2 separate regions of the Homo sapiens genome follow, and region 1 is linked to region 2. Evidence: promoter capture Hi-C in 16 types of primary human blood cells and fetal thymus (Javierre and others, 2016). All regions are on one chromosome and are shown on one strand. The core of a region is centred on a gene start or on the middle of the fragment in contact, and the rest is flanking DNA. Distances in the headings are between cores, read along the strand shown. Region 1 overlaps IDH2 (isocitrate dehydrogenase (NADP(+)) 2). Region 2 holds the start of AP3S2 (adaptor related protein complex 3 subunit sigma 2).

Region 1 (5,395 bases), core at 1,997-4,496, 200 kb after region 2:
TCTTGTGTTACACACAGTCCTTAGAGAGGTGGTGATGTGTCTTCAGCTCCACTCTAGATTAGACACAGCAAATCAGGTGAAGGGAAGAGAATGATTATTTGAAAACACTGGGTTGGGGCTGGGTGTAATGGCTCATGCCTGTAATCCTAGCACTTTGGGAGGCTGAGGCAGGTGGATCACTCAAGGTAAGGAGTTCAAGACCAGCCTGGCCAACATGGTGAAACCCCATCTCTACTAAAAATAGAAAAATTAGGCATGGTGGCACGTGCCTATAATCCCAGCTACCGAGGAGGCTGAGGCAGGAGAATCGCTTGAACCCGGGAGGTGGAGGTTGCAGTAAGCCAAGATCACGGCACTGCACTCCAGCCTGGGCAACAGAACGAGACTCCATCTCAAAAAAACAAACAAACAAACAAAAAAAACTGGGTGGGAAGAACTGACAAGGGACAGAATACCTGTGAAAAGCAGGCCTAGAAACCACCTCGGCACATTTAAAACAAAAGTGATTAAAGCCTAACAGACCTCAAACAACTGACTTTCCAAAGATATGCAAAGAGTTTGTTTTTTTTTTTTAATCTAAAAATAATCTTAGAGATCATTTAGGGGGAATAATGAGACTCAGAGAGTGTGGTCTGCATCAGAGGCAAGATAGAGCCCAGGTCCCTGACCCAAATGCAGCCTCTGGAAGACCCGTGGGTCAGATGTAGAGAAGCAGAACACAAACACAGCCTTGGACTATTCCATTCCCTAGAGAACAAAAGGTGGCTGGCTGCTGGCTCTACTGCCTTTCCCAAGACGCGATGGGGATTTTGAACCCAATCTACAATATTCCTTCACTTTTTTCTGAAGCTTGAGTGGAAAGAGCTGCAGAACCTGCGGAAAGTCTGTTGAGCTGTTGCAGAGCTAGTTTAGTTCTGGGGAGCATCTCCTATGAGTTAATTTGAGGACAGCTAATCAAATTTGTTAAAAAAAAAAAAAAATGAACTATCATAATCAGGAGCCCTAAGGAGAGACTCACTTGGGGCCAGTTCTTCAGGTTTCAGCCTCAGCCTGGGCTCCACGGTTGGGCTTCAGGCAGGCATGGCTAGGAGAGTTCAAGGTCAAGATCAAAGACCTGATGTGTCAAACCCTCAGAGACCACAGGACCTGATTATTTACTCACCGGCAGGTGCTAACTAAGCACTTATCCAGTACCCCACTGGGATACTGAAATGCCTAAAACACAACAGTGCCTGCCCGGAGGCAGTGAATGTGGAAGGGGAAACCTACAGGTAACAGAGAGAGAGCAAGCAGGGCTGTCACCAAAGTCAGGAGTGCCCAGGCCTCCCTGGAAGCAAACATCCCAGGGGAACTGAGAACAGCAACATGAGCCAAGGCCAGCAGAGACTTGTTCTGCTTGTTCCAGGTACTGGTTTTTTAAAAAAATCTTAATTGGTGACCAAGTTTTAAAAATCAGTAAATCTCAACAATAAAACAAATAACTCAACGTTAAAATGGACAGAAGACTGGCTGGGCACCGTGGCTCATGCCTGTAATCCCAGCACTTTGGAAGGCTGAAGAGGGCAGATCACTTGAGGTCAGGAGTTCGAGACCAGCCTGGCCACAATGGTGAAACTCTGTGTCTACTAAAAATAGAAAAAAAATTAGCCTGGTGTGGTGACACACACCTGTAGTCCCAGCTATTTGGGAGGCTGAGGCAGGAGAATTGCTTGAACCCAGGAGGTGGAGGTTGCAGTGAGCAGAGATCATGCCACTGCACTCCAGCCTGGGTAACAGGAAGACTCCATCTCAAAATAAATAAATAAATATAATGGACAAAAGACTTAAATAGACATTTCAAGTCCAAAGATGATATACAAATGGCCAACAAGCACATGAAAAGATGCTCAACATCACTAATCATCAGGGAAATGCAAATCAAAACCATAATGAGATATCACCCCACTATCCCCTCACAACCACTAAGAGAGCTACTATCAGGAAAAGAAAAACAAAACAGAAAATAAAGTGCTAGCAAGGATGTGGAGAAATTGGAACTCTTGTGCCCTGTTGGTGGGAATGTGAAATGGTGCAGCTGCTGTGGAAAACAGTATGGGTGTTCCTTAGCTAAAAGGAAAAGAATTACTGCCGGGCACGGTGGCTCGCACCTGTAATCCCAGCACTGTGGAAGGCTGAGGCGGGTGGATCACGAGGTCAGAAGATCGAGACCATCCTGGCTAACACAGTGAAACCCTGACTCTACTAAAAATACAAAAAATTAGCCAGGCGTGGTGGCAGGCGCCTGTAGTCCCAGCTACTGGGGAGGCTGAGGCAGGAGAATGGCATGAACCCGGGAGGCGGAGCTTGCAGTGAGCTGAGATCGCGCCACTGCACTCCAGCATGGGCGAAAGAGAGCAAGACTCCGTCTCGAAAAAAAAAAAGAAAAGAAAAGGACAAGAATTACTATATGATCCAGCAATTCTGCTTCTGTATATACATCCAAAAATATCGAAAGCGGGGTCTGAAAGAGATATATGTATGCCCACATTCATAGCAGCAATGTTCACAACAGCAAAAGATAGAAGCAACCCACGTGTCCATCACAGATGAATGGATAAAGACAATGTGATACAGTCCCCCCTTATCAAAGGTTTTATTTCCATGACGTCAGTTACCTGTGGTGTCAGTTACCCACAGTCAACCATAGTCTGAAAATAGGTGAGTACAGTACAGTAAGATATTTTAAGAGATCACATTCATGTAACTTTCATTACAGTATATTGTTATAATTGTTCTATTTTATTACTAGTTATTATTGCTAATCTCTTACTGTTCCTAATTCATAAATTAAACTTTATCATAGATCTGTATGTATAGGAAAAAAACATAGTATCTACAGGCTTTGCAGTTTCAGGTATCCACTGGGGATCTTGAAATGCATCCTCCAAGGATAAGGGGGACTACTGTTATCTACATACAATGGAATATGATTCAGCCTTGAAAAGAAGGGAAATTCTGACACCTGCTACAAAGTGGATGAACCTGGGGGGCATTATGCTAACTAAGTGAAATAAACCAGTCACAAAAGACAAATACTATATGCTTCTACTTACATGAGGTACCTAGAATAGTCAAATTCATAGAAACAGAAAGTAAAAAGGTGGCTGCCAGGGACTGGGGACGGGAAGTGGGGAGGTATTGTTTCATGGGTAGAGAGTTTCGGTTTTGCAAGGTGACAAAGTTCTGGTGATGGATGGTGGTAATGTCTGCACAACAGTGCGAATGTACTTAACAATACTGTACACTGAACAATGACTAAGATGGTAAGTTTTATACGTTTTTTACCAAAATAATAAAAATTTAAACCAGTCAAAAAAAATCAGGAGATTTTATATAAAAATCTAGAAATGCAGCAGGCACTCACTCATGGCAAGGATGGGCTGGGCTGAAGGCGGCCTCTCCCTTCACTCCATGACAGCCAAGTGCCCTCCAGTGTGGCCCAGGGCACTGGAGTTTGAGACCCCTGTCTGCTGTTCAGCCTGTATGGTGGAGATACAGCCATGGTCTGCCCTTCTCTGAGAGATAAGTGGTGACAAGCTACCTGAAATACACAGAGCAGCAGCTAGGCCTCCCTGAAAACCTCCGAAGTGACAGCCACCACGAATCTTCAGCTGATGCATTGCACAAACACTGTCCTCTTGGCGAGAGTGCAGGATGGAATTACACCAGTCACCAGAGGCACGTTAGGCTGACTCTCCTCCCTGTCTGGGGCTCCTAGCACCCAATACCAAGTAAGGATTTCAAAACACATCCCTGGCTTCTTGCTGCTCCCAGCAGGAGGCTAGAGGTCCAGCCGCAGGCAGCCAGCCCCAGGCATAACTGCTCCCTCCACATTCCTACCCATGCTCTCAGCAGAAAGGCTGCTCAGTCAGCATGTCCCAGCAAAAGATCAGAGAGTGGGGAAAGGTTCCAATTCCTGGGGGCTCAAGAAGGCAGGACAGCAACTTTGTATATTTTATGTATGTATGTATGTATGTATGCATGCATGTATGTATGTATGTATGTATGTATGTATTGAGACAGAGTCTCACTCTGTCGCCTACACTGGAGGGCAGTGGCGTGATCTCGGCTCACTGCAAGCTCCACCTCCTGGGTTCAGGCAATTCTCCTGCCTCAGCCCCTGAGTAGCTGGGACTACAGGCGCCTGCCACCACACCCAGCTAATTTTTGTATTTTTAGTAGAGACCGGGTTTCACCATGGTGGCCAGGCAGGTCTCGAACTCCTGGCCCCAACTGATCCGCCTGCTTCGGCCTCCCAAAGTCCTGGGAGCCACCGCACGCGGCCAGAACAGCCATTTTGGAACAAACTCTAGTAGACTCCTTGGTGTCATCCTTCATTCCTTCCCTTCTCTCACATCCAAACCACCAAAACCAGAAGCCACCCTCAGACAAGCCCACCCTTGCCATAAGTGAGTGCCTGCTGCGTATCTAGATTTTTATGTAAAATCGCCTGAATTGGAACCTTTCCCCACTACTGGCTCCTCCTTCAAAATATATCCAGAATCCAACCACTTCTTCACCATCCCCAGCGCCACCACCCAGGTCCAAGCCATCATCCTCTCTTGCCAGGTCCCTGAAGCTAGAATGCTCCCGATAAGATGGAAATCAGGTAACGATACTCCTCTCAAAACCCTGCAAAGTAAAAGCGAAAGCTCTCAAAAATGGCCTGTGAGCCCTCTACAGACCCCACTGCCGAACCTCATCCTGTCACTCCACCTGGTGCCTGCTGAGCCAGCCTTCGCACCATCCTCTCTGCTCTTCCATCATGCCCTTGGCACCTGCGAGTCCCTCTTCCCCCAATACCGAAAATGGCCTGCTTCCTCCCCTCCTCAGCGATTCCTTCAGTGAGGACTTTTCTGGCTGCCCTATACAAACTTTTGTGCACACACCTTTCTTGCCTGTTTCTCCTTAGCTCTTCTCTTTTTGGGGGGAGAAGGGGGAGGCAGGGTCTTGCTTTGTCACCCAGGCTAGAGTGCAGTGGCACAATTGTACCTCACTGCAGCCTTGACCTCCTGGGCTCAAATGATCCTCCTGAGTAGCTAAGACCACAGACATGCACCATCGTGCCTGGCTAATTTTATTTTTTATTTTTGTAGAGATGGGGTCTCACTATATTGCCCAGGCTGGTCTGGAGCTCCCAGCCTCAAGCAATCCTCCCACCTCAGCCCCCCAAAATTCTGGGATTACAGGTGTAAGCCACAGTGCCTGGCCTTCCTTAGCTCTTGTACCCATATATCATACTAGTCAACATCTATCTTGCTTACTGTCTGCCCCCTCCCACATCAGAATTTGAGCTCCTAAGGGTTTTGAAAGAGTCTCTGCTGGTTTTATTCCCAGCTCTATCCCCAGCACCCGG
Region 2 (5,428 bases), core at 172-2,671:
TTAGAAAAAAACTAGGGGGGAAATTTGCATACACACAAATGCAAATACAAATAGTTACGCTGAATACTCATATACATACATATATATATATACTTTTTTGTGTGTGTGTGTGATGGAGTCTCGCTCTTTCGCCCAGGCTGGAGTGCAGTGGCGCTATCTTGGCTCACTGCAAGCTCCGCCTCCCGGGCTCACGCCATTCTCCTGCCTCAGCCTCCTGAGTAGCTGGGACTTGGAGGTGCCCGCCACCGCGCTTGGCTAATTTTTTGTATTTTTAGTAGAGACGGGGTTTCACCGTGTTAGCCAGGATGGTCTCCATCTCCTGACCTCGTGATCCGCCCGCCTCGGCCTCCCAAAGTGCTGGGATTACAGGCGTGAGCCACCGCGCCCGGCCTGAATACTCATATTTTTACCTCGATGTAATCTACTTAATAAAATGTAATCTAGCTTTAAAAATCTTATGAAGGAGTAAAATTATTTTTTCATTTCTAATTGACAAAAGACAATAAAAGTCTGAAAAGGGTTTATTAACTTGTCAACAGACGCAAGAGTAGAAAAGGTGGAGCTGAAGCCTGAACACGTTTTCTGGCTCTTTCCCCTCTTCAGTTCCACCAGTCCCCCAATTATGTAACATTTTGAAACCCTGCCATGAAGAAATATAATCTTCGAAGACAGGAAGCAAATACTGATGTTTATGTGTTTGCAAAGGAACGTGTTGGGAAAATTCAAATTTACGTAATCACTTATTGAGCCCTTATGCGGCAGCATTTATAATTTCTCATCATTTTTCCACTTTTAAACTGATTTTCTTCAACCCTAAGAGTGAAGGGTATCTAGTCTCTGGAAAGTCCCAGCCAACACTGAAGCAAAATAATTCCAAAAAAAAAAGAACTTTTCCAGTTCTGGCTATAACAAAAACTTTCAGAAACTTAATATTTCTTCCTCATGAAACTGTGGTCAACAACCAAAAAGATGACAGAATGTGACTTCAATCACTCAAGTTCTCATCGAGGCACACTCCCCACTGTCGCTTCTATCTCGTTCCCAGAGACCCACGGGAAAATGTCACAAAATGGCACAGAAATGCCAGGATCAAGAAAAGGGTCAGCGAGAGCGGGGCAGTAGGGCGGGAGACAGAAGGCCTGGCACCAGCCTGCGCCTAGATTAAATGCTTAAGTAGGGCGAGGGTCATGCTCGGTGCAGGAGCCCCAGGTGACCAAAGAGCGGTGCCCCCGGGCGCCGAGAGGCCAAAGAGGAGGGAAGACATAGTGGGCGCCCTGAAGGGGCGTGGTGAAGCCGGGCCGCACTCACGAAACGCTGGTAGAAGCGGACTAGCCGTGGCTTCCCATGGTTGTTGAAAACCAGAATCGCCTGAATCATCTTTGCCAGCCACGGTTCTCTCAGCACCGGCTACTCCCAGAAAGCTCCTCCTTCCGCCACAACACGATCACTTCCGGTTGGTGCGCTGCTGAGAGCGGCACTCGGAAACTTGGCCCCGGCGCTCACGAGCCCTAGCACCCAAGGGTCCGGCCTCTCTGACGCCTTGGAGGGCAGGTGCGGATGCCGAGGAGAGTGGTCACCTCGGCCAGCGTTGGTTGGCCAGTCAGGATGCGAATCCGGATCTATGTCCCTCGCCCAGACCGACGGCTGGCCCCAGAAGCCGAAACGACCGTCAGCCGGGTTGCCAAAACGGAGAGGCGGCGGGAGCTTGCTTTTCTCACCGCCCGCTCCAAATCATGCACTCCCGCCATCCCCTTAGCGCTCGCAGAACGTTCCGCGGAGTGGAGACGCCGGTCATTCGGCCGTTCGTCGGTTATGGAACATTTCGTTCATTTTAATTTTTCAGTATTATAATGCTGCAGTGAATTACGTAGCTGTCTCTCCGTGCAGATGGGCTGTTCCTCTATGGTAGACGGTGAATGGTGGAATTAAGGAATTTTTAGTGCATTTCCATTTAAAATCCCAAATCGATCAAGTTCTTATTTTTGTTTGTTCTTTTAATGACCCAGTGTGGGTGAAGTGGAGCATGTCCGTATACTGCAGATGGAGCAGCGGATACAGATGCAAATCGATCCAGAGGACTGTTTGGCGATATGGATCAGAAGCCTTTAAAATATATAACAGTCCGGGCGCGGTGGCTCACGCCTGTAATCCCAGCACTTTGGGAGGCCGAGGCGGGCGGCTCACTTGAGGTCAGCAGTTCGAGACCAGCCTGGCCAACAAGGTGAAACCCCGCCTCTACTAAAATTACAAAAATTAGCCGGTTGTGGTGGCGCGCGCCTGTAGTCCCAGATACTTGGGAGACTGAGGCAGGAGAATGGCTTGAACCCGGGAGGCGGAGGTTGCAGTGAGCTGAGATCACACCACACTGCACTCCAGCCTGGGTGACAGATATATAACATATATATATATATATATAAAACATTAGACTCAGCGTTTCCAGCTCTAGAATTTATGATAAAATGATTGTGGATGTGTGAAAAGATTTAGCCTGAGGAACATACATTTCTGCCAGAGTATCTTCAGAACAGTAAAAAAAAGAAGAAAAAAATATATATCTCAGCAGTGTTATTACAGGGGAAAATGGGAAGAAAATTATTACAAAAATGAGAAATTGGTTAAGTGCATTGTTCTACATTGAATATGAGAAATATTAAATAGATAATAAAAATCATGCTGGGAAAGATTTATGATACGGAAGTGTTCATGACACCTGTTAAGCTAAAAGATTACACAAAGTATGTACAGGGACAACCCACTTTGCTCAAGATTGGAGGCAAATACACCAAAATATGAATCATGTATCTGATGGAATGGCAGAGTCAGGGTGTTTGATCTGTACAGGACCCTGGAACCACACTGCCCTGATTCAAAGCATGGTTCTGCGGACTGCCTGGGCACCCTGGGCAAGTTTCCCCATCTGTAGAAAAGGTGTAATATCAGTTTCCTAAACTGGAAAACTGGAAAATGAGTCTACTGACTTCAGACAGTTGTTATAAACACAAAGGGAGTTAGTATAATATTTGTAAGCACTTGGACAGTGCATGGCACATAACTGAGTACCACATAAGTGATTTAAAAACATCTTTGGGTGGTAGGATTATCAAGTTTTCCTTTTTTTCCTTCAAAGAAATATGTACTACTTTTGCAGCCAGAGTTCTGGGGTTTGCTTGTTTGTTTTTCAGAGATAGGGTCTTACCCAGGTTGGAGTGCAGTGGCACAGTCATACCTCACTGTAACCTCAAACTGCTGGCCTCAGGCAATCCTCCAGCCTCAGTCTCCCAAACCGCCACCACGCCTAGTCCAGTTTTTTGTTTGTTTGTTTGTTTGTTTGTTTGAGATGGAGTCTCACTCTGTTGCCCAGGCTGGAGTGCAGTGGCACAATCTTGGCTCACTGCAACCTCCGTCTCCCGGGTTCAAACAATTCTCCTGCTTCAGCCTCCCCAGTAGCTGGGATTACAGGCACATGCCACCATGCCCAGCAAATTTTTGTATTTTTAGTAGAGATGGGGTTTCACCACATTGGCCAGTCTGGTCTCAAACTCCTGACCTCAAGTGATTCACCCATCTCAGTCTCCCGAAGTGCTGGGATTACAGGCGTGAGCCACTGCGCCCGGCATGGCCCAGTTTTTAAATAAATAAAAACCAAAAGTCAGTTGCACTGAAACTTGACAAAATGTTTAAAATGTTGAGGAAGAATATCAAAGAAAATTCTGAAACAGAATTATGAAGAAGAACTAGCTCTGCCAACTATGAAAACCTACTTTGATGGTTCAAATTGTAATTATAGGAAGAATAACTGAAATATTATAAATAATTTAGGCATAAAATAATTTTAATATGTGATGTAGGAGTGGGAAGGAATTCAGTAAATACTATTAGGATAACTGGTTAGCAATTTGAAAATAAGTAGTTAGGTATAAAACCAGATAATAACCTAAACAGAAGAAAGCGAAATTGAATAAGATCCAAAAATCTGTATTAGCTTAGAAGCAATAAAAATCACAAAACATCAACAGATATATAAAGTTTTTTTATAAAAAGAATTATTTAATGGAAAAATCGTTGTTAAAATATGGCAAATGGTTATATTTAAAATGCAAATAACTGATAAACTAAAAAGATAACACTCCCCATCTCCCCAGTAGATAAATGGACGAAAGAACGAATAACAAAGGGAGAAATACAGCTAGGAAAAGGAAAAAATGTTTAAGCTCACTATAAGTGGGGGAAAGGCAAATTAAAATATATTCAAATATTATTTTCACCTCATCAAAAATCATTTTAAAAATGTTTTCATACCCAATTCTCACAAGGGCAGCATAAAAATGGTTCTCCCCTACATTGCTGGTGAAATTATGGTTTAGAACAACCCTTTTGGGAAGCAATTTGGCAATATAACAAGAACTTTGCAAAAGATTTCTAGATTCTCAGTAATATGACTCCTGGGCATCTGTTCCTAAAGAAATAACCCAAAAATATAGTTAGAGGTGGGGAATTAAGAGAACTATATAATTTTCAACATTTTTGGAAACATTAATTCTGTTAGCCACACAGGGATCAATTTTAAATATCCAAAAGTTGGACCATGACAGAACTATCCAATGGTAGCAATCTTAAAAATAATGGTTACAGGTGGGCGTGGTGGCTCACGCCTGTAATCCCAGCAATTTGGGAGGCTGAGGAGTGAGGATCACTTGAGATCAGAAGTTCAAGAAAAGCCTGGCTGACATGGTGAAACCCCGTCTCTACTAAAAATACAAAAACTAGCCGGGCGTGGTGGCGTGTGCCTGTAATCCCAGCTACTCGGGAGGCTAAGGCAGCAGAATAGCTTGAACCCGGGAGGCAGAGGTTGCAGTGGGCCAAGATCGCGCCATTGCACTCCAGCCTGGGCAACAAGAGCAAAACTCCATCTCAAAAAAAAGAAGAAGAAAAATGGTTACAAAGACTATGCAGCAATATGGAAAGTGATTATGTGTGGGCATAGTGTTACAACAACTACCTACAAGCATTACAGATGTTTCAGAATTTGTCTAGCAGGTTTTCCAGTTTGTACCAGAAAACCCCTATGCAAGTTTACAAAAACCAAAACTATGTACACAAATTACATGCTAAAAAACCCAAATACTAAAAATTATGAACATGACTGAGTGAAACTATGAGTCTTTTTTTCCCCTTTAAATATATTTCCTAAATGCATTGCTATTTGTGGAGATTAGTTTAGTCCCTCAAAAAATTTTCCCATAATGTCCGGCACTGTGGCTCATGCCTGTAATCCCAGCACTTTGGGAGGCTGAGGAGGGTGGATCACCTGAGGTCAGGAGTTCGAGACCAGCCTAGCCAACATGGTGAAATCGCATCTCTACTAAAAGTACAAAATTAGCTAGTCGTGGTGGCGCAGGCCTGTAATCCCAGCTACTTGGGATTACAG

The links. The method cuts DNA at HindIII sites, captures the fragments that hold promoters and counts their contacts. A CHiCAGO score of 5 or more calls a contact.
Region 1: a fragment that was not itself captured here is called in contact with the fragment with the promoter of AP3S2 in region 2 in 2 of 17 cell types (M0 macrophages and M1 macrophages); the score reaches 8.0 in M0 macrophages.

What each region holds. Positions count from the first base shown.
Region 1 is chr15:90,094,508-90,099,902 of GRCh38, forward strand. The region is part of intron 1 of IDH2 (isocitrate dehydrogenase (NADP(+)) 2); the gene reads right to left. Among named protein-coding and RNA genes, the nearest start is that of IDH2-DT, 4.9 kb to the right of the region's middle. RefSeq lists an enhancer at 919-1,443. The HindIII fragment of the contact is 4,798 bases long and covers 848-5,395 here.
Region 2 is chr15:89,892,573-89,898,000 of GRCh38, forward strand. AP3S2 (adaptor related protein complex 3 subunit sigma 2) reads right to left here and starts at 1,422. Exons shown (of 6, transcript NM_005829.5): 1 at 1,309-1,422. The coding sequence starts at 1,377. All of the region lies in intron 5 of ARPIN-AP3S2 (ARPIN-AP3S2 readthrough), which reads right to left. ARPIN (actin related protein 2/3 complex inhibitor) reads right to left here. Exons shown (of 6, transcript NM_182616.4): 6 at 2,434-5,428. It also overlaps the pseudogene RNU7-111P. RefSeq lists enhancers at 1-460, 1,453-1,602, 1,957-2,704. The HindIII fragment of the contact is 43,116 bases long and covers 1-5,428 here.